4 separate regions of the Homo sapiens genome follow, and regions 1, 3 and 4 are each linked to region 2. The links are contacts of gene promoters, found by promoter capture Hi-C in blood cells and fetal thymus (Javierre and others, 2016). All regions are on one chromosome and are shown on one strand. The core of a region is centred on a gene start or on the middle of the fragment in contact, and the rest is flanking DNA. Distances in the headings are between cores, read along the strand shown.

The links. Contacts are between HindIII fragments. The CHiCAGO score rates a contact against its expected background, and 5 or more counts as called.
Region 1: a fragment that was not itself captured here is called in contact with the fragment with the promoter of TRMU in region 2 in 3 of 17 cell types (endothelial precursors, neutrophils and erythroblasts); the score reaches 7.5 in endothelial precursors.
Region 3: a contact is called between a fragment that was not itself captured here and the fragment with the promoter of TRMU in region 2, in 17 of 17 cell types (M1 macrophages, endothelial precursors, erythroblasts and 14 more). The highest score is 14.1, in M1 macrophages.
Region 4: a contact is called between the fragment with the promoter of CELSR1 here and the fragment with the promoter of TRMU in region 2, in 1 of 17 cell types (M1 macrophages). The highest score is 5.4, in M1 macrophages.

The regions. Positions count from the first base shown.
Region 1 is chr22:46,144,955-46,149,799 of GRCh38, forward strand. No RefSeq gene overlaps it. Among named protein-coding and RNA genes, the nearest start is that of PPARA, 3.1 kb to the right of the region's middle. The HindIII fragment of the contact is 1,284 bases long and covers 2,893-4,176 here.
Region 2 is chr22:46,334,126-46,338,879 of GRCh38, forward strand. It overlaps TRMU (tRNA mitochondrial 2-thiouridylase), which reads left to right and starts at 1,589. Exons shown (of 11, transcript NM_018006.5): 1 at 1,589-1,721; 2 at 3,654-3,819. The coding sequence starts at 1,640. RefSeq lists enhancers at 1,627-1,846, 1,679-2,178 and a silencer at 1,987-2,036. The HindIII fragment of the contact is 6,278 bases long and covers 1-2,975 here.
Region 3 is chr22:46,131,077-46,135,544 of GRCh38, forward strand. The region is part of intron 1 of LOC124905137 (a long non-coding RNA gene); the gene reads left to right. LOC124905138 (a long non-coding RNA gene) reads right to left here. Exons shown (of 2, transcript XR_007068140.1): 2 at 3,602-4,468. Among named protein-coding and RNA genes, the nearest start is that of PPARA, 17 kb to the right of the region's middle. The HindIII fragment of the contact is 6,870 bases long and covers 1-4,468 here.
Region 4 is chr22:46,535,365-46,539,878 of GRCh38, forward strand. CELSR1 (cadherin EGF LAG seven-pass G-type receptor 1) reads right to left here and starts at 2,256. Exons shown (of 35, transcript NM_001378328.1): 1 at 1-2,256. The coding sequence starts at 1,806. The HindIII fragment of the contact is 22,329 bases long and covers 1-4,514 here.

The sequences.
Region 1 (4,845 bases), core at 2,285-4,784, 190 kb before region 2:
GGCACGTGCCACCATGCGCAGCTAATTTTTGTATTTTTAGTAGAGATGGGGTTTCACCATGTTGGCCAGGCTAGTCTCGAACTCCTGGCCTCAGATGGTCCACCTGCCTCGGCCTCCCAAAGTGCTGGGATTACAGGCATGAGCCACCACGCCTGGCCCCGAGGTATTTCTTTAAATCAGCTAGTTGAAGTTCTATAGGAAACTCTTCACAATGTCAGTTTTTTGTTTTTTTGTTTTGTTTTGTTTTGTTTTTTTCACTTTGCTGCAGACCCAGAAAACTTTGTCAAACATGACCTGTCCCTTCCAGGAGATGAGGGACCATGGCCCAATCCCACGTTTTAGTGAAACCCAAGCAGAGCAATGCAATAGGGCAGCCCCCCTTCCACTCAGCTGCACAGGCTCCGGTTCAGATTGCCTTTCCTGGCTGGCAGGATGCTTTGGTGAAAGGCAGATAATAGGGTGGGACAGGGGATCACGGGCGGGAGACACGTAGGCACTGGGGCTGGTGTCTGCGAGGCATGAGGCCTGCCTGTCGGCTGTCCTGAGTGGAGAGACAGGACCGGGCAGTGGGCCGCCATAAAGATGGTGCTGGATGCGACAAGAGCCGCATGGAACACAGGAGGTGGTGGCCACACAAGGCAGAGGGCAGCTTTGGCAGGGGGACGGTTGCCAAGCAGGCTTCCTGTAGGAGGCAACTCTTGACAGAGCCCTCAAGCTGGTGGTTACCATGTCCCAAATATGACCCACTCATCAGGCCCCACCCTGCACCACCCCCGTGCTCCCTCCTCAAACTCACACCAGGACCCATCCAGGAAGGCGTCCCTGCCCCATTTTAGAGATGAGGGGGCTCGGATAGCATCACCGGCTGGAGGTTGTAGTTTGAGGAAAAGGTACAGGAGGATTTGAATCCAATTCTGTTGAACTCCAAACCCCAGGCACCCACTCATTCCATGAGGGAAAGTTGGGGGACAGTGCCCACGTGGCACGGTGCTGTGCACGTAAGCTTGCCTGTCTTGTGTGTTTCCAGGCTGTCATGCCAGACCTCATCTCTGCACTTGCAGTCTTCCCTGGCCGCAGCAGTGCCACTCACTGCCAACCACTGGGTCAGATCATTGCAGAATCCAACTCCACACAGAGCAGATTGTCCTTTATGGACCAAATATGTCTATCTGGTTGGGCGCAGCGGCTCACGCCTGTAATCCCAGCACTTTAGGAGGTCAAGGCGAGCGGATCACCTGAGGTCAGGAGTTCGAAACCAGCCTGGTCAACATGGTGAAACCCTGTCTGTATGAAAAATACAAAAAATTAGCCGAGTATGGTGGTAGGTGCCTGTAATCCCAGCTACTCAGGAGGATGAGTCAGGAGAATCACTTGAACCTGGGAGATGGAGGTTGCAATGAGCCGAGATCTCACCACTGCACTCCAGCAAGGACATAAGTGCAGAGCAAGACTCCATCTCAAAAAGAGAAGAGAAGAGAAGAGAAGAGAAGAGAAGAGAAGAGAAGAGAAGAGAAGAGAAGAGAAGAGAAGAGAAGAGAAGGGAAGGGAAGAGAAGAGAAGAAAAAAGAAAAGAAAAGTAAAGAAAGAAAATCCGTCTATCTACACATCACACTTTGCAGTGAGACTCCCACGGCACCTAGCATGACACAGGGAGGGGTCCTGCAGCTTCCAGTCCATGTCCTGGACTGGATAAACAACATCCATGATCTAGCCCTGGAGCTGGATCCTGTGTGACGAGGTGGACACCTGTCCCTTTGGAGGGGCAAAGAAGGGAGGCAGTGCAGCTGCAGGTGGGCTGCCCTGTTCTTCTCAAGATCTACAGAGACAGACATCTGAGCCATGTCGAATGGGCCCTGCTGCAAAGCTGGGGACTGGTTAATTTTCAAAGGGTACAGTGTCATGACAGCAGCAGTTTCTGGACCTGCGGAAGCTTCCAGATCCTGCAAAGCTAGAATGGGTGCACAGCTTAAGCCCCTCCCCACCACCTCAGCTGTGACCACTGGTTAACATGTAGCATGCAGCACTTGGTGCTAATCAGATGGAGTCATGCCTCTGCTGACAACCCTCCATGGCAGGTGTCCCACAGCCCTTAGGACCAAAGTTAAACTCCTCACTGGGCTGCAAGACCTGCCTGGCCAGGGCCTTGCCCAGCTCTGCCCGCTTTGTGCCATCTCCACACTCTCTCCCCTTGAATGTCTCCTGCCACAGGCTTCTGCACATGCTGCTGCCACCCCCCTGGAGCTGTGGGGCCAGGAGCAGCCACCAGGGAAATCTGATCCTTGACCCTGGGCTCCTGAGTCTGCCAGAGGCTGCCGTATCAGCCAACAGACAGCTTCTGCAACAGACAACCGAACCCCGGGGGTACCCAGGGCCAGGTGCTGATGGACTGGGACTCGGGAGAGTTCTCACTCCCTGCCGGGGACCTTGGCCACATGCTGCCATTCCTGGCCCTTCGTTCCTCATCTGTAAGATGAGCATAAGCACAGCTGCCTTGTGGGACTCTTGTAGATTCTGTCCCCTAGTATGACAATACTTTGTTACCTTGGACCCATGGGGTTTTGCTGTCAGTACCAGGATGGCAACTAAGGACATGCCCATGGTTGGCCCTCACCGACGAGGTCCAGCCTTGGGTCGCCAAGCAGCCGCCTGCTCGCTGCCAGTGAGCCCTCCCTTTCTCAGCCCACGGCCCCTGCCCCGGTGGACTTCCACCACCTGACCTGCAGGCACGCTTCCAGGAGCTCAGAGGCCACTGCCCTGGCGGATGACACCCTGGAAGCACACACTCCCCCTTGACAGAGAGCTTTGCACATCAGCAGAGGGCAAGCCAGCAGCAAACTTCGCAGGCCCTGGCTGGCAAACAGACTCCAGCCTGGACCCCAGGCCCATAGGAGAAGCTTCACCCTGGCAGGGTCAGGGAAAGCACTGGGGTCCCTGAACACAGATGACCGTCATCACCTGCTCCCAGCACTCAGGGTCTAACTGCTGCCCTGTACTGAGCGGCCAAGCCCTATCACTCCAGGTTGCCTCCTCCAGCAACCCCTTCCCGTCTGAATTCCCAGCTTCCCAATTCTTTCCCTGAGGCTGTGGGAGAGCCTCGGCTTCTCTGGCTGGCTGGCAGGTCAGCACTTGCAGGAGAGAGCAGCTCAGCAGGGCAGACGTGGGCTTTACAGACCTGCCTTCCGTCCTGCGCCCTGCCGCTGGCCTGGGGGACCCAGTGCAGATGGGGCTTCTCTGTGCCTCAGTCTCCATCTTGCAATGTGGGCACAGTAATAATTACCCTCAGAACATCTTCCGGATCAGAAAATGTAAAAAGGGACCTGAGACAGCATTGTCACCACATAAATGGTAGCTATGAACTAAGATCCATATGCACCAGATGCTCCCAGTAGTCACTAAGGCGCCAGAGAGGAAACTCAGGTGGTGCTCAGAGACATTTTCAGGAGCACTGATTTGTCCTCAAAGTTACAGATTTCTACTCAGTCCCTGCGCCAGCGGTGTTTCTGTTCTGTCGTGTGGCCCTCATTTCATCAGCACTGAAGAAGGTAAAGAGAGACTTCCTGGAGCTGGGAATGGGGGTGAGGGTGTGCCCTTTGTGACAGTTGCTCCCATGCTGGGTGTGTGACAAGGTCTTCGTGGCCAACAGAAAATTGCTTCATCTCTCTCATCTGAGCGTGGTTTCCCAGAAGAAACCTACCACCCCCGGGAAGCATGGATATGGGGCTGTTTCTGGCCAGGATACTCCCAAGAGAAGAGTCCTGAACTTGCTTCTACCCTCAGGACGCCTGCGGGAGACTGGCTGACAGCATTTGATTGAAAATGCTTATTTCTGGGACACATGGATGAAAAACAAGTTTTCTCTCCCTAAAACCTTGGGAGCCCCAAAAAACCCAAGAATATCACTTTCCTATGTCTGCTGAGTGTACGTGACCACTCTGCACACCCCCACATAGCCTTTGTCCTTGTTCATGAGAATGTTCACTAGGTCTTTCAACACCTGGTTGACCTGGGTGGTGCATCTGGGTCACACACCTGTGTGGACCCTGGTCCTTGAGAGTCTGGGATATGGGTATGCCAGGTAATGTCTTTGAGCCCGGAGGTCCTCATGAGGATGTAGCCCCTGAGCTCTGCGTGGGCAGCCCAGGGTCAGCTTCCCTCACCAAACACAACAGGATGACAAGCTTGGATGTGGCTGCCTGCACACCCCACGAGATATGCAGGATATTACGTGTACAGGTCACCCTATAAACTCTGAAACAACATAAATGATAGCTATTGCTGGCTAACATGTGCAAGAGAAGGTGAGGTTGCCGTGTGCCAGTGGGAAGGATATGTGGGTGTCTGGAGGGTGGGGCAAAGTTCACCATAGGTGCCTGGCTAATCAACAAGGGTGAGTTTAAGAGAAGTTTGTGAAAGGGCCAGTTCCCGCCTGATCTCCAGTTCCCCTGCCTAATGAGATCTGGGTTTGCTTTCCGGAGTGGGTCCTCCTGGGCGCCCGCTGCCACAAATAGCACAGTGGCAGGCACAGCTGGCAGCGGAGGGCAGGCAGTGGAGCGGGCATAGCACACATTGCGTTCCCGAGGAGGGGAGCCCTGATGTGCCGGCACCCAGGGGCTTTGTGCATTCCGCTCCGGCAGCTCGAGCGTCACGGCCCGAACAAAGCGGCTTTGCAGGGCGCTCTCCTACTCCTCGCCATTGGCCACCGGGCCGCGACCTCTCCTTGCTCTGGCAGAGTCCCAGCGCCTTGCGTAGGCACAAAGTCAGCCCCTCACCCCCCAGCGCATGAAGTAGGGGCGGGCATGGCTCTTGGGCCGCTGGAGAGGGGTGGGGTTGTGGGGTCGGAGCTGG
Region 2 (4,754 bases), core at 339-2,838:
TAGCTGGGTGTGGTGGCATGTGCCTGTAATCCCAGCTACTCCGGAGGCTGAGGCAGGAGAATCGCTTAAACCCGGGAGGCGGAGGTTGCAGTGAGCTAAGATCACGCCACTGCACTCCAGCCTAGTGACCAAGTGAGACTGTCTCAAAAAAATAAATAAATAAAATAAAAACCTTTGTCTTCCTTTACTTCCCTGAATACCCACATAGCTTATTGTGGCATGCATATTCCCATTGCAATGCCCTATTCACAAATGAACATCTTTTTCGTTCAGAGTCTCCCTGTGCTTTAGGTAGACCTTGTCTAGATGCTAACTCGTAGAGAAGAACTCAGCTTGAATATCACCCCTGGGGGATGACCTCCATTCTCTCCTCCTTCCTTTATTCAGCGAGGTTATGAAGCACCTGCCCTGGGCCAGGGGCTTTTCTGGGCATGGAGTAGGAGTGGACAGAACACAAAACCCCTGTCCAACACACCTCACAGACATTAAGGATTGAGTGCTGAGTATGCTTGGAGTCAAACTGTAAAAGATTTGAAGATATTTATTCATGTCATAGTCCCAGGAGATCCTGAGAACACGTGCTCAAACTGGTGGTGCTACAGCTTTTGGTTTCGTACGTTTTAGGGAGACATAAGCCATAAATCAATACATGTAAGATGTAACATTGGTTCCGGAAAGGTGGGACAACTCGAAGGTGGGGTGGGGCTTCCAGGTCATAGGTGGATTCAAAGATTTTCTGGGCCGGGGGCAGTGACTCACACCTGTAATCCCGCCACTTTGGGAGGCTGAGGTGGGCGGATCCCTTGAGGTCAGGAGTGAGAGACCAGCCTGGCAAATACGGTGAAACCCCGTCTCTACTAAAAATACAAAAATTAGCTGGGCTTGGTGGCGGGCGCCTGTAATCGCAGCTACTAGGGAGGCTGAGGCAGGAGAATCGCTTGAATCTTGGAGGTGAAGGTTGCAGTGAGCCGAGGTCGCGCCCACTACACTCCAGCCTGCGACAGAGCAAAACTCCATCTCAAAAAAATTTAATTAATTAAAAATTAAATTAAATTAAAATACTGTAAAATACTTCGATATCTTTCAGGGCCTGCCATCTGTCATGTCGGTATCCTATTGCTACGGAGAGTCCGCCTAGACAGTCTTAAGTCTGTTTTGACGTTAATGCTGGTCCGAATTCCAAAGGGAGGAGGAGGGTCTAGTGAGGCGGGTCCCACCCGGCCTTTCCCATCAGAGCCCGAACTCGCGGTTCAGGTTCCCTCTAGGACGCCCTTGGCCGAGAGGAGGCCTCCAATGGCTGGCTGGGGGGCTTAGAATTTTATTTTTGGTTTACAGCGCAGAAGAAGAGCAGTGAGGCCGGGGCGCGGGTGGGGAGGGCAAGGCGGCGGCTCAAAAAAAAAGCCAGCCCCTCGCGGCCCGACAGAGTCTCGGCGCCCCGCGGGTCGGTGGAGCCTCAGGGGTGAGCGCAGGCCGGAGACAGGGGAACCCGCCGCGGGACAGGGGAAGGCCGGACGGAACGCGGGTAAGCTGCCGCAGCTTCCGGCCGGGCCACTAGCGCGGACCCTACGGCCGGGGCGGGACTTCCGGCAAGGCGCGGAAGCGGCGGTAGCTGCAGCTGGCGAAGTTGGGCGACTGGCGGATGCAGGCCTTGCGGCACGTCGTGTGCGCCCTGTCCGGCGGCGTGGACAGCGCCGTGGCCGCGCTGCTGCTGAGGCGGAGAGGTGAGGCGTCCGAGGCTCCCGCCCCCCGCCGAGCGAATGTGTCCCCGGAAACCTGTCCCCGTCCGTCGTGGCGTTGTGCACGTCTCCTCCCTCCCTGGGCCGCTGGTTGCGCGCGGGTCGGCAGGAGGATACCCCGTCCTCTGACTTTGGTTCGGAGGCTCCTCGCCCTCCACCTGTGTAGTCGGAGGTGTGCGCGACTGCAGCTCCGACTACCTGGGAGCAGTTCCGCGCCCCTCTCCACCCACGCGCGCCCACCCACAGTGAGAAGCCGGCGGGCCGGGGTGGGGTGGGGAGGGAAGGGTTTCTCACGGATCTGCGGCGTCCACATTCACCTGTGAGACCGTGGACACTGGTGAGGGGAGCTGGGATCGCCGGGCCGGGGGCCTGACCTCTGCACACGCTGTGGCCGCCCGGTGGGAGGTCCTTGTCCTCCCCACTCAGCAGACTGGACAACTGCCGCGCGGCGGGTCTGCTTGTTCAGCGTCTCCTGTGTTCTCCGCTCGCTGGAGGACAAAGTTTTCTCCAGGAGCATTTGCATTTCTTCCGGCATCTAAACGGAGCCCCACGGGTGCTTAGCATTCCTCGGGCCCGGCGCTGAAATGAGCACTTGTTTAACTTCACCTGTGTGGCTCCCCGCGGGAGGCCTCATTCACAGAGTCACGTTTGTGGAGCTCTGCTTTGCGCCATCTTTGGCTCCTGACCTTGGGCAAGTGAATTAAGCCGTCCCCTGTAAAATTCGGCTAACACCTGCCTCACGGGGTGACTGGAGGGATTAGATGACATAGTACATACTGATGAGTACGTGCTCAGCACATACGAGGTACGCAGAAAACAGTAGTGGCTATTAGTTTATATTGTTAATAACCATAGCTATTATGGTAGGTACAGTAAGTGCCAAAGAGAAGGGTAGGCGGACCATAAGCAGAAATAGTTGTGAGGAAGGGAGAGTGGAGGAAAGCATCCTAGAGATGGAGGTGCTCAGCTGAGTCGAAAGAAGAGTAGGATGTCACTAAGCAGAGACTTGGAGGTGGAGGCGGCCCTCCCGGCACAGTCAGCAGTGCAAGCAGAATCACAGAGGCCTGCAAGTGTGGGCTGGTTCTGGCCAGATGGAGATGGAAGGAGAGGAGCCTGGAGCACGTTTAGCCCTGATTATGGAAGATGCTATACCAGGGGCTTTAGACTGTTAGGTAGACATTAGTCTGGTTGATCTGGGATAGGGGTGGTCTTTCGCGTGTGGTGGTGTAGTTTTGACAAAGCTTTGTCATCAAATTTCTGTTGTTTTGGGTACTATATGAAGCCTTCTTCAGCAGTCATTTGCCCTGTCTTTCATTACATTCAGCCTACCTAAACGAACCAGCTTTCTCATACAGGGTCTGCACCTGTGTAGTTTGCTAAGGTGGTGTAGGGCTAAAGTTGGCCTTTCCAATATTTGGGTGAATATTTTGTTACAATCGAAAAGGTAGAAAATAGGTCATAAACTAGGTGGTACAGCTCTTACAAAATATCGAAAATTTTAATTATCTTTATATCTGATCACTTAGAATCTAAGTCTTAGATAGTAACTAGAAATAACTTTTGAAAAGAGTTTCCTTTTTTGATAACTGAATGGTGCTTTGAAAAATTTTGTTGAGTTTCGACTATTCCTTCGTGTATTCCACACACACTGGCTGATCCCCTCCTGCTAGGTATTGTGCTGATACATAGATGGGGACACAAAGATGAGAAAATACCACCTCGTTAATCTTGGGGACTCAGGCACCAAGATGGAAACCGGATCCCTGAAGCCACATGGCAAAGCAGGGACTGCCCGGCAGGCCAGGCACAGAGGCACAGGAGCACAGCGTGTGGGGAACTTCTCAGAGCTCAGAAATCACTGCCGTTTTACCGAAGGTTGATTTATGTATTCTCTTTAATTGACCTTCCCGCCCGCAGGTTACCAGGTGACAGGGGTGTTTATGAAGAACTGGGACTCACTGGATGAACATGGGGTCTGTACTGCCGACAAAGACTGTGAAGATGCTTACAGAGTTTGCCAGATCTTAGACATCCCTTTCCATCAAGTGTCCTACGTAAAGGAGTATTGGAATGATGTGTTCAGGTGAGTGCGGGTCACAGCACAAAGGAAGCTTCCTCACACTGTGGATCCTTGCAGTGGAAGGATCCGGTAACCAGCCAGACCGACGCCTGTGCTGCAGCCCAGCGCTCTCCCTCCACGGTGGTGCTGAAGACTGCAAGAGGCCTCAGCCACCCTCGGGGCTCTGTGTTAGAGGCGAGGCCTGGACCCCACAGCACACCCAGCTCTCTCACTCCTGTCATTTTGCCACTTGCCTGAAGTCTCTTTAATGCTTTCTTGGACCTTGAGCTGTTTCTGTTGCCCAGTTAGGATAGGGGAGCTAAGGCTGAGGGCTCCCCTGGAAGGTGAGCACCAATGCCTGTGTGCTATGTGGGTCAGCGATTAGGGGATTTCTGAGAAAGAGGTGATACATGGCCTGTGCCTCTGAAAACAAGAAACAAACAAAAACTTTTCTAAAATCCAATATAATCTCAATAATTAAGTGCTGTGTGCTAGGCGTGTGCCACATCTAGGAACATTAAGATGTCTTCACTGTGACCTGGCTCTGTAGGAGTTTGCGGTCTAGTTGGGAGGACATTATCTTCACAAGAGGTGACAGTGATGCGTGGCACGCAGGAAGTACCAGTGATGCTATCAGTCACTGAACCCAGAGGAGGGAGAAACTTGCAGTGTGGAGTAATCAAGAAGGCTTCACCGGAGAGGAGGGGTTGCAAACAAAGTTGTAGAGAAGGGACTCCAAATGGGGTAACGAGAGCAGCGTGAAGGGGAGAAGAAATGCTGATTGTGTATTTCAGGACCGTTGTAAAGTTTGGCTGGACTTTTGTTCCTGCAGTGGAAGGAGTGTAGGGCTCATCCTCTGGTGAGCCCTGACTGTGATGAATGTCGGGCAGTTGTCGAAGGCGTCTGACACAGCAGGCCATGTGCGCGGGACAGGCTGCCCCTGCCTGAGTGGGCTTTAG
Region 3 (4,468 bases), core at 106-2,605, 200 kb before region 2:
CTCCAGTGATGGATGAGGGGCGTGGATTCAGCGGCCCCCTGCCTCTGGCAGAGACTGGGTCTGGGATTGGTGCTGCCAGGCCTCTGGCCCCATTCCCAGGACCAGTCCCTCTACCCTCCCAGGCCCAATCTCGTCAGCCCCGGCACAGGGATTCACGCCGGGGATGGGCCTGGCTCAGACGGTGCCCCCCTCCTAGCCCACATCCAGGCAAACAGCCGTAAGAGCAGTGAGAGCGCCCTCTCCTGGGAGCGCTGGGCAGGTGCCAGGGCTGACGCCACCGTAAGGTTACAGGGCAGGGGTCACTCCTGCTAAGCCCCAGGGAAGCCCCTCCCTACAAGTTGGGTCCCAGGTAGCAAGGGCAGGAAGGGTGTTTCGGGCATGGGGAACAGCATGTGTGAAGGCTGAGGTGGAGGGAAGTGGGTGGGTCCGGCAGGGGGCACTGGTGGGTTTGGGGTTCAGAGAGAGAGCCCTGCGTTCAGTGTGGGCCATGGAAGGAGGGAAAGTGCTCTAGGCAGGCAGAGGGGAGGGAGGCAGCGGAGGCTGGGGATAGACTTGGGCCCTGTGCACATGAGGGGAGGGGACGGAATGAAGACACTGAGCTGGCCACAGAGGTCACCGAGGTTGTCCGGAACACGCCCACCATATTTATGGGACACCTCCTGAGACCCCCAGGCCTATTTCAGGGCCTTCAGTGCAGGGCCCCGGGATCAGCAGCGAGCAGCACAAATGAGACCCTGGGCTCAGGGAGAAACACAGGAGGGGAAGAGGGGGCGCAGTTGGGGGCAGGCTTCCAGAAGCACCTCGCCTTCAGGAGTGTGGGTCGGGGGGCTGGGCTGGAGACAGGCCCCAGACTGGGGCAGCAGTGGCAGGAGCTAAGAGTGTGGGTGGCCAGGGTGACTGGGACAGGGGTTGTGCCAGGAGCAGCCTCATCGCCCCTGGGTTTCCCAAGAGCCATCAGTGCCCATGCCCGGGTGCTTGTGGCTCTCATACCTCAGGACGAGCAGCAGGATTCGGACCCAGGGTGCTGGGGTCTGCAGCCCCCCACTGGACGCTGAGATCTGCACAGCCTCAGCACTAGCTGCTCTCAGCCATCAGGTCACCCGTGAAGCAGCATGCAGGGACCCGGCACTCTCCACCCCACAGAGAGGGCTCAGGCCCCTGGTCTGCTGTGCAGACCCAACACAGACTCTCATCTTGTAGTTGTTTTTTTTTTCTTTGTTTGTTTGTTTTGAGACAGAGTCTCACTCTGTCGCCCAGGTTGGAGTGCAGTGGGGTGATCTTGGCTCACTGCAACCTTTGCCTGCCAGGTTCAAACGATTCTCCTACCTCAGCCTCCCACGTAGCTGGGATTACAGGCATGTGCTACTACACTCAGCCAATTTTTTGTCTTTTGGGTAGAGATGGGGTTTCGCCATGTTGGCCAGGCTGGTCTTGAACTCCTGACCTCAAGTGATCCACCTGCCTCAGCCTCCCAAAGTGCTGGGATTAGAGGCGTGAGCCACTGCACCCGGCCTCATCTTGTAGTTAATGCTTTCTGTGTACCTGGCCTGTGCTGGCCAGCGCCATGGTGGTAGCCACCCACTTGACAGCAGCTGGGAGGTCCCTGGGCACAAGGAGAAGAGGTGACAAGGCCGGGTGGGAGGAGCTTGGTCTCGCACAGTCCTGAGGTGACAGCCACCTTGGGCTGCATACCACTGACCTGGCCCTGCAATGGAGGCAGTTGCCCAAGTACCGGCTGCTGGCTGGTGCTCCGAGGCAGAGGGCACAGTGGGGTCCAGCTGGGTTGGGGGGCCACTGACAGCCAGGGAGCAGCAGGGGGCTGGGTTGCTGTATTATCAAGGGCACAGCTGTCCCTAAAGCCACTAGGCCAAAGGGCCTCCTCACTCCTGTGCGACGTGGCCCTGAGAGTCCAAAGGCCAGGCCAAGGTCACGCCATGGTCAGTGCCGGCCAGGGCTGGAAGCCGAGCCTCCTGACCCTTGCACCAAGCTCTCTCCTCTGTTCAGGCCACGGCATCCAGGCCTGGGGCCACGAACCCGCAGTTTTCTCCCGTCCTGGGGCAGTCAGCCCTGGGCTGTGGGGGCTGCTGGGGCTGGGGGTCCGAAGGGCTGCGGACTCCCAGGAAGGAGATGTGAGCTCTATGGAATCCTAGCAGGAGCCCGTGGCATCCTCAGCTTTCCGGGTGTGCTGGGTACAGGGGCAGATGGCTGGCATGCTGGGGGGCCTGAGGCTCTGGCAAGGCAGCTGGGCACAGCCTGAAGGTCTGAGTGCCTGGCCCCCAGGGAGGGATGGCTTTGGGCCACCTTTGAAGGCCTCTTGACCCGCAGATGATGCAGCCTGCAGCCACCTCCGTCCACTTAGCAGGTCCTTTCCAGCCTGGCACCGGGTCACAGGTCACATTGGCCCCTGAAGTGCCAGCCCACAGCTCCAAGGAGGGCTACAGGGGAACATCGGCTGGCTGGGAACTCACAGAGCCCCAGGCAGCGCTCAGCTCCCTCCCCGGCCCTGCCACAGGGCCCTGCTGGCCTCTTCACCCCACACCTCCCTGTCAGTCCTCCTTCCAGGGCAAAGGCCCCAGCTCTCACTTGGGGCTCAAGCTATCCTGGGCTCCTCACTCTCTCTTGGTCACTGCCCTCCCCTCCCAGACACCCGTCTCCCAGCCACCTGCACCTCCCCAGCCCTGTGGTGCAGTGTAAAGCTGGCCCTGGCACCCTGTGGTTGTCCCGCCTCGCCCTTGGACCCCCAAACCCCCCAAGCCCCAAAGTCAGGACTGCATGACGCTTAGAAGCCCAGCCTCCAGAGCTGAGTCCCTGGTTCAAATCCCGGCTCCACCAGTTTTAGCTCTGTGACCCCTCTGCCTCAGTTTCCTCACCCACAGAATGGGGATCACTGGTGCCATCCCATAGGGCCAGTGTGGAGATTAAATGAGCAAGTTCTTACAAAACCTGAGAATGGGGGTCCGGCCATTGCTCCAGTCTGGTCTGGGTGTTCTCCCTGCTGGAACATTCCTGCTGCCCCCTCTCCCCACAGCGCCTTCCCCACCCCACCCCTTCTACCTGGAAAGCAACGGGCCTCATGCCTGGGAGGGGCCTCCTGACCCCCAACCCCAACTGCCCAAGCCACGAACCAGTGCACTCACCACTGGCCTGGTGATCCTGGGGTCTGGGCCAGAGATGGGGTCACCTCCGCATCCCCCACCCAGAGCAAACCTGCCCCTGTCCAGCCCCGGACAGCTCTGCATCTCCCTCCTCCTGCAGAGGGCAATGGTAATCCTTGACATGCGGTCCTCCTGTCCTCTTAAGATTCCGTGGCCTGTGGTGTCTGGAAAACTTTGAATTCCATGACTGTCTGGGGCCAAAAACGATGAGTGCACAACAAGAAAACCCTCCCAGGAGGCCTGGGCAGCCAGGACGCGCATCTGTGCAGGACCCTCAGCGGAGGTGCGGCCAGCGGACCTGCACCTAGAGCTCCCGGCATGCCCAACCCTGCAGGTTCAGTGTCCTTGTCATTCCCCATGAGCCAGAGGCACGTGACGCTGGGGGCTTCATCCTGTGGCCACAGGAAGGCTCCAGAACACTTTAGACAGAGTGACAGGGTCAGAGGTGTTTTTATTTTCATGTTTTAATTTTGTTCGAGATAAGAGTCTTGCTCTATCGCTCCAGCTGGAGTGCAATGGCTTGATCTCCACTCACTGCAACCTCCGCCTCCCGGGTTCAAGCAATTCTCCTGCCTCAGCATCCCAAGTAGCTGAGATTACAGGCGTGCACCACTACGCCCGGCTAATTTTTGTATTTTTAGTAGAGACAGGGTTTTGCCATGTTGGCCAGGATGGTCTCGAACTCCTGACCTCAAGTGATCCACCTGCCTTAGCCTCCCAAAGTGCTGGGATTATAGGCGTGAGCCCCTGCACCTGGCCCAGAGGCACTTTGCAAGAAGGGCTGAGAGGGGCAGGGGAGTGCAGTAGGGAGCTACTTGGGGAGCAGGCGGCCTGCCAGGGCACAGGTGACAGTGACAGTGTCAAGGGTGGCAAGGTGTTGAGGAAGCCACTCCTAGGAGGTGGTCACTGGTGTGGAGGGCAGAGGGGCTGTTAGGCCACGCACAGATTTCTGGCTTAGAAATAACTGACTGGCAGGCGATGCCCTACACCAAGACAGGGAGCACTGAGAGAGGTCAGGCTTCAGGGCAGTTTGGGGATTCCTGTGAGGCACCCAAGTTGGCAGCTCAGGAGGCAGGGGGCAGCTGGAGGCAGCATGGGAGACACTGGCGCCTGGGGATCCGGAGAGCACCCAGGGAGGGTGGCAGGCTGGGAAGAGGCTGAAGCCAGCAAGGGGCCTGGAGAAGGTCAGGGAGGCTTGTGTCAGGAAGAGAGAAAGAGAGGCCAAGTACATCCCACACATGCACATGGGCCAGGCATGGGCCATGCAGGCTAGGATGGATGCCCAGGAGGTGCTGCGGGGATGACCACCCCAC
Region 4 (4,514 bases), core at 1,006-3,505, 200 kb after region 2:
ATAGTGCAGCCGGGCGTTCTCTCCAGAGTCCGCGTCCACCGCCTGAATGTGCACCACGGGGTAGCCCAGGGGCACATTCTCCAGCACCGTGGCCTGGAAGGGGCTGCTCACAAAGATAGGCTCGTTGTCGTTGACATCCAGCACCTGCACAGACACCACCCCTGAAGAATTGATGAGCGGGGGCCGGCCCCCATCCTGGGCCTTAATGCTCAGCGAGTATTTCTGGACATCCTCGAAATCCAAGGGGTTGATCACATCCAGGATCCCGCTCAGCGAGTGCAGGTAGAACTGGCCGGCCACGTTCCCGCTGAGGATGCTGTAGTGAATGGCCGCGTTCTGGCCCTGGTCCCGGTCCGTGGCCTGCACTCGCAGCACAGCCGTGTTGAGCCCCACGTCCTCGGGCACCTGGACCACGTAGTTCTGCTCGCTGAACTGGGGGTAGTTGTCGTTCTCGTCCTCCACCTCGATGTACACGGTGGCCGTGGCACTGAGCGGGCCCGGATTGCGCCCCTGGTCGTTGGCCTCCACCAGGAGCTGGTACTCGGCCGCCTCCTCCCGGTCCAGCACCGCCCGTGTGCTCACCACGCCAGAGCTCTCGTTGAGCTGGAAGACGTCCCACGCGCCCCCCAACACGCGGTAACGCAAGTTGGCGTTGATGGGCGAGTCGCGGTCGCTGGCGCGGATGGTCAGCACCTCGTAGCCCACCTCCAGGTTCTCCCGCACGCGCTCGCGGTACTCCGACTGCTCGAAGACCGGGCTGTGGTCGTTGGTGTCTTTGACCAAGACAGTGATGTAGGTGGTGGCCGAGCGCGGCGGCGTACTGTAGTCCACGGCTTTCACCCTGAGGACGTGCGTCTCCTTGGTCTCGCGGTCCAGTACGCTGTCCGTGCTCACGGCGCCCGTGGCAGAGTCGATTCGGAAGTAGCCCCGGGAGCGCTCGTCGAACAGCCCCTCCATGTAATAGCTCACGCGCTCCTCCTCGCCCTCGATGGTGTAGTGCGCGTGCAGCTGGAGGATGAGGGTGCCCGCCGGTTCGTTCTCAAACAACGCCACCTGGTAGTTGGGCATCGGAAACTTCAGGCTCCCTCTGCCGCTCGTGCCCCGCCGGGCCCGTCGCGCCGGCCCCGCCCGGGCTTCGGGCAAGTTCGGCGGCAGGGGCGGCGATGGGGATGGCGACGCGGAGGGCGTCCCCGCGGTGGCGGCCTCCAGCGCCAGTCCCACCCGGACGGCGCCAGCCGCGCGCCGCAGGGCGCACAGCAGACGCAGGCGGACCGAGCCGCCCGGCGGCAGGCAGATGGGACGGCCGGGACAGCGGGGCCTGGGGCGCGGCGGGCAGCGGCAGGCGGGTAAGGTGGTCGGAGCTGCGAGCGCCGAATGCTGCGCGGCCGCGCAGCCGCCGGGGACGGGGAAGCAGAGCGCCCCGCAGAGCCGGGCACCGGTTCCGCAGAGCCGGGCACGGGCTCCGCAGCCGGGAAGGTGCGTGCGCGCCCGCAGGCGGCGGCTCAGCGCCGTCGGGGCACTGCGGGCCACCAAGCGGACTTGCAGCGGCAGCGGGCGCCCCGCGCCCGAGACGCGCCGACGTCCTGCCAGCCGCCCATCGCGGCCCACGTCCAGCAGCTCCCGCGGCGCCCGGGGCGTGCAAGCGGCGCCCACCGCGTAGGTACAGCCGGGCCGGAGGGCGAAGGCGCGGGTCCCGCCGGGTACGCGCGGCTCCCAGGCGGCCGCTCGCAGCCCCATCGCCGGCAGGGCGGCGGCGGCGGCCAGGAGCAGCAGCACGGGCAGCACGGGCGGCGGCGGCGGCGCCATGGCCCGGAGCCCGAGCCCGAGCCGGGCGCCCGAACACAATCCATGCACCCGGCGCGCCTCCGCATCCACCCGGCGAGGCCGGGGAGCGGCTCCCGGGCGCCCGGCCCTCGGGGCGGTCCGCGTCCCGCCTCCCCGGGGGCCCTGGCGGGGACTGTGGGGACCACGCGCCCGGCCTCCCCCGCAGCTTCCACTTCGAGAGCACTTTGCGAAAGTTTGCGAAGTTGGTTTCAAGATGGCTCCTCCGCGCGTCCCGGGAGGGCGCCGCGCATCAACCTGCGGCGGCGGCGGCGGCTCCAGGCGGCTCCAGGTGGCTCCGGCGCGGGCTCGGCCGGACGGGCGTGGGAAGCGGGGCGGGCCCGGCGCGGGGCGGGGGCTGAGTTCCCGGAGCGGGCTGGGCAGCTCCGCGCCGCGCAGACCCCGGCGGCCGGCTGCTGCCTGGGCGGTGCGCTTGGCCCGCGCCCACTCCGCCCGCGCTCTCCCCGCCCCCGGCCCGGCCCCGCCCCGCCCCCGGCCCAGCGGCGTATTGTTCGGCCCCGGGGGGAGCCGGCTCGGAGGTGCGCGCCGAGAGGATCGCTATGGAGACGCGAGGGCGCGGCCGGGACGGGGACTGGGGCCCTACTCCCCGGAGGCCTCCCCACCCAGCCTCCCGGTGGGGCGGGGCCGAGGCAACAGGGCCGGGAAAGGTGGGGCTGGGGCCCCCGGTGGCCGCTACCCGTGGGGCGGTGGCTCCGCACCTCGGGCTCGGGGCCGCGGCTCAGAGCCTGGCTCCCCACCCCGGCAGAACAGATCCACGGAGACCGCCGCCAGGAGTGCCGCGCGGGTAGGACCCGGGGGCGGAGGACTGGGGCCGAGAGGCCGGGGAGCCCCCCCCCACCCATTAAGGACTGCGGAGGCTGTCGAGGAGGGTTACCCATTTTACAGCAAGACGCACGGAGGCTAAAATGCTTCACCCCGACTAAAACTCCCTGGACTTTGAAGCCCAATAGGCAGCTACCGGATCTGCGTCCCACTTGGTTTAAAGCGCAACTTTTAAATGAAAGAAGAAAACCCCGGTTGACATAAGGGATTTGGAGAGGACGGCGGAGGCGCGCTCATCTCCCGCGTGCGGCCCGACCCGAGCGTTCGCGGACGCATCGCGGAATCCCCGAGCGTCCGGCTCCTCCCGAAGCGGGTTGCGGGGAAGGCGGGGGGCTGCGGGTCCTGGAAGCTGCCTGGGGCAAGCAAGCACCCGCAGGGATTTAGAGCTGTGCCACAGCCCCTGCCCAGCCTCCTACGGAGGACAGCGGGGGGCGGGGGGCAGAGACCTTAGAGCTTTCAGAAAAGTGACACACACCCCCGCCTCCTGCGGGGAACCACGGGGGGCCGGGGGCAGCTTTAGGTTTGCGTGACGGGTACACCTGCCTCCGGATGGGGCACAGGGATAAAGGGGGTGGAGGCTTAGGACTTGGCGACCCCCCGCATGGGCGGGGCTTTGGGACTGTGCCACCAGCGGCTGGGAAGGGCGCGCACTCCCTTGGTGGCGCTCGGGGCGCCGGAGTCCAGTGCAGCCCTTAGGCCTCCCAGTGGTCGGGGACGGTAGGTGGGGGTCGCCTCTTCTCTCCTAGAAGGGCTTCTCCTGGGGCCGGTCGGAGCGGTGGGGGTGGGAGTAATGCGCAGTCACCCCTAGAACGGGTCTTTTTGGCAAGGGAGGGTCGGATCCTGCAGCCAAATCTCTGAGCTGAGCTGAGATGAGTCCAGTCTCAACGAGGACCGTGGGCGGCTGTGGAGAACCGGAAGGGTTTCTCCCCCGGAGCGATGTGTCTGTGTGTGTGTCACACGCATACTCAGCCAACTTCGCTCAAAGCTGCTGAAACAGTGTCTTTGTGCTGAAGCCCAATGTGAGCATTTTCTTCCCAGTAGCAAGGATTTGAACACGTTATATTGATCTAAAAGGTGGAGTTGCTTTGGAACCTTTTAATTCGAGGTTTCCACTGGAGAGTCCTGTTGGGAAATGTGTGTGTGGAGGGAGGGGAGGAAGGAGAAAAGTCCGTCTCCTTAATGTGAGCGGTCCAGGACCTCCCCACCCGCCATATACCCTTCCACTGGGATTTTTCCGGGAAGGATGAAAGGACAGGAGTTCTGGGGCCGGAAGGCAGGGCGGGTCCCTGAGCCCGGAGCCTCCCAGTGGAAGGCTACTGGGCGGACCTGAAGGGGACCCAGGCAGGAGGAAAAACCAGAGAACCCCAGGAGTGCCTGTTTTGCAATAAGGCTTTAAGCAGAGTGGGTTGGGTTTAAATAAACAAAACTCAGCTGCAGCCAGTGGGTTCAGGTGTGGGCCTGCTTTTCTGGAATAAGGCACCTGCAGGCTGCGAGGTAACCACAGGGACTGCCCAACACCTAGGGACAGGGGAGGATGGATGAATCTCACTAACAGGATGTCCAGCAAAGACAAAAGATCATTCCATTCACGCTTAGACCGACAGCAAGCCCGACTCCACCATAACGTTTAGAGGTGTGCACAAATAGGGGAAAGATGAAGAAAAACAAGGAGGTGATTATGGGCACATTCAGGAGGGCTCTGGGGGAGGAGGGGCATCCCCTTCTGGACCTGAGGGTTACCAGAGTGTCGGCTTCATGATCACACTTTGAACTCCAAACACATGATTTGCGTACTTTTCCCTATGCCTGCATCTAGAGTCGGCAGTTTTTGTTTTTTTTTGTTTTGTTTT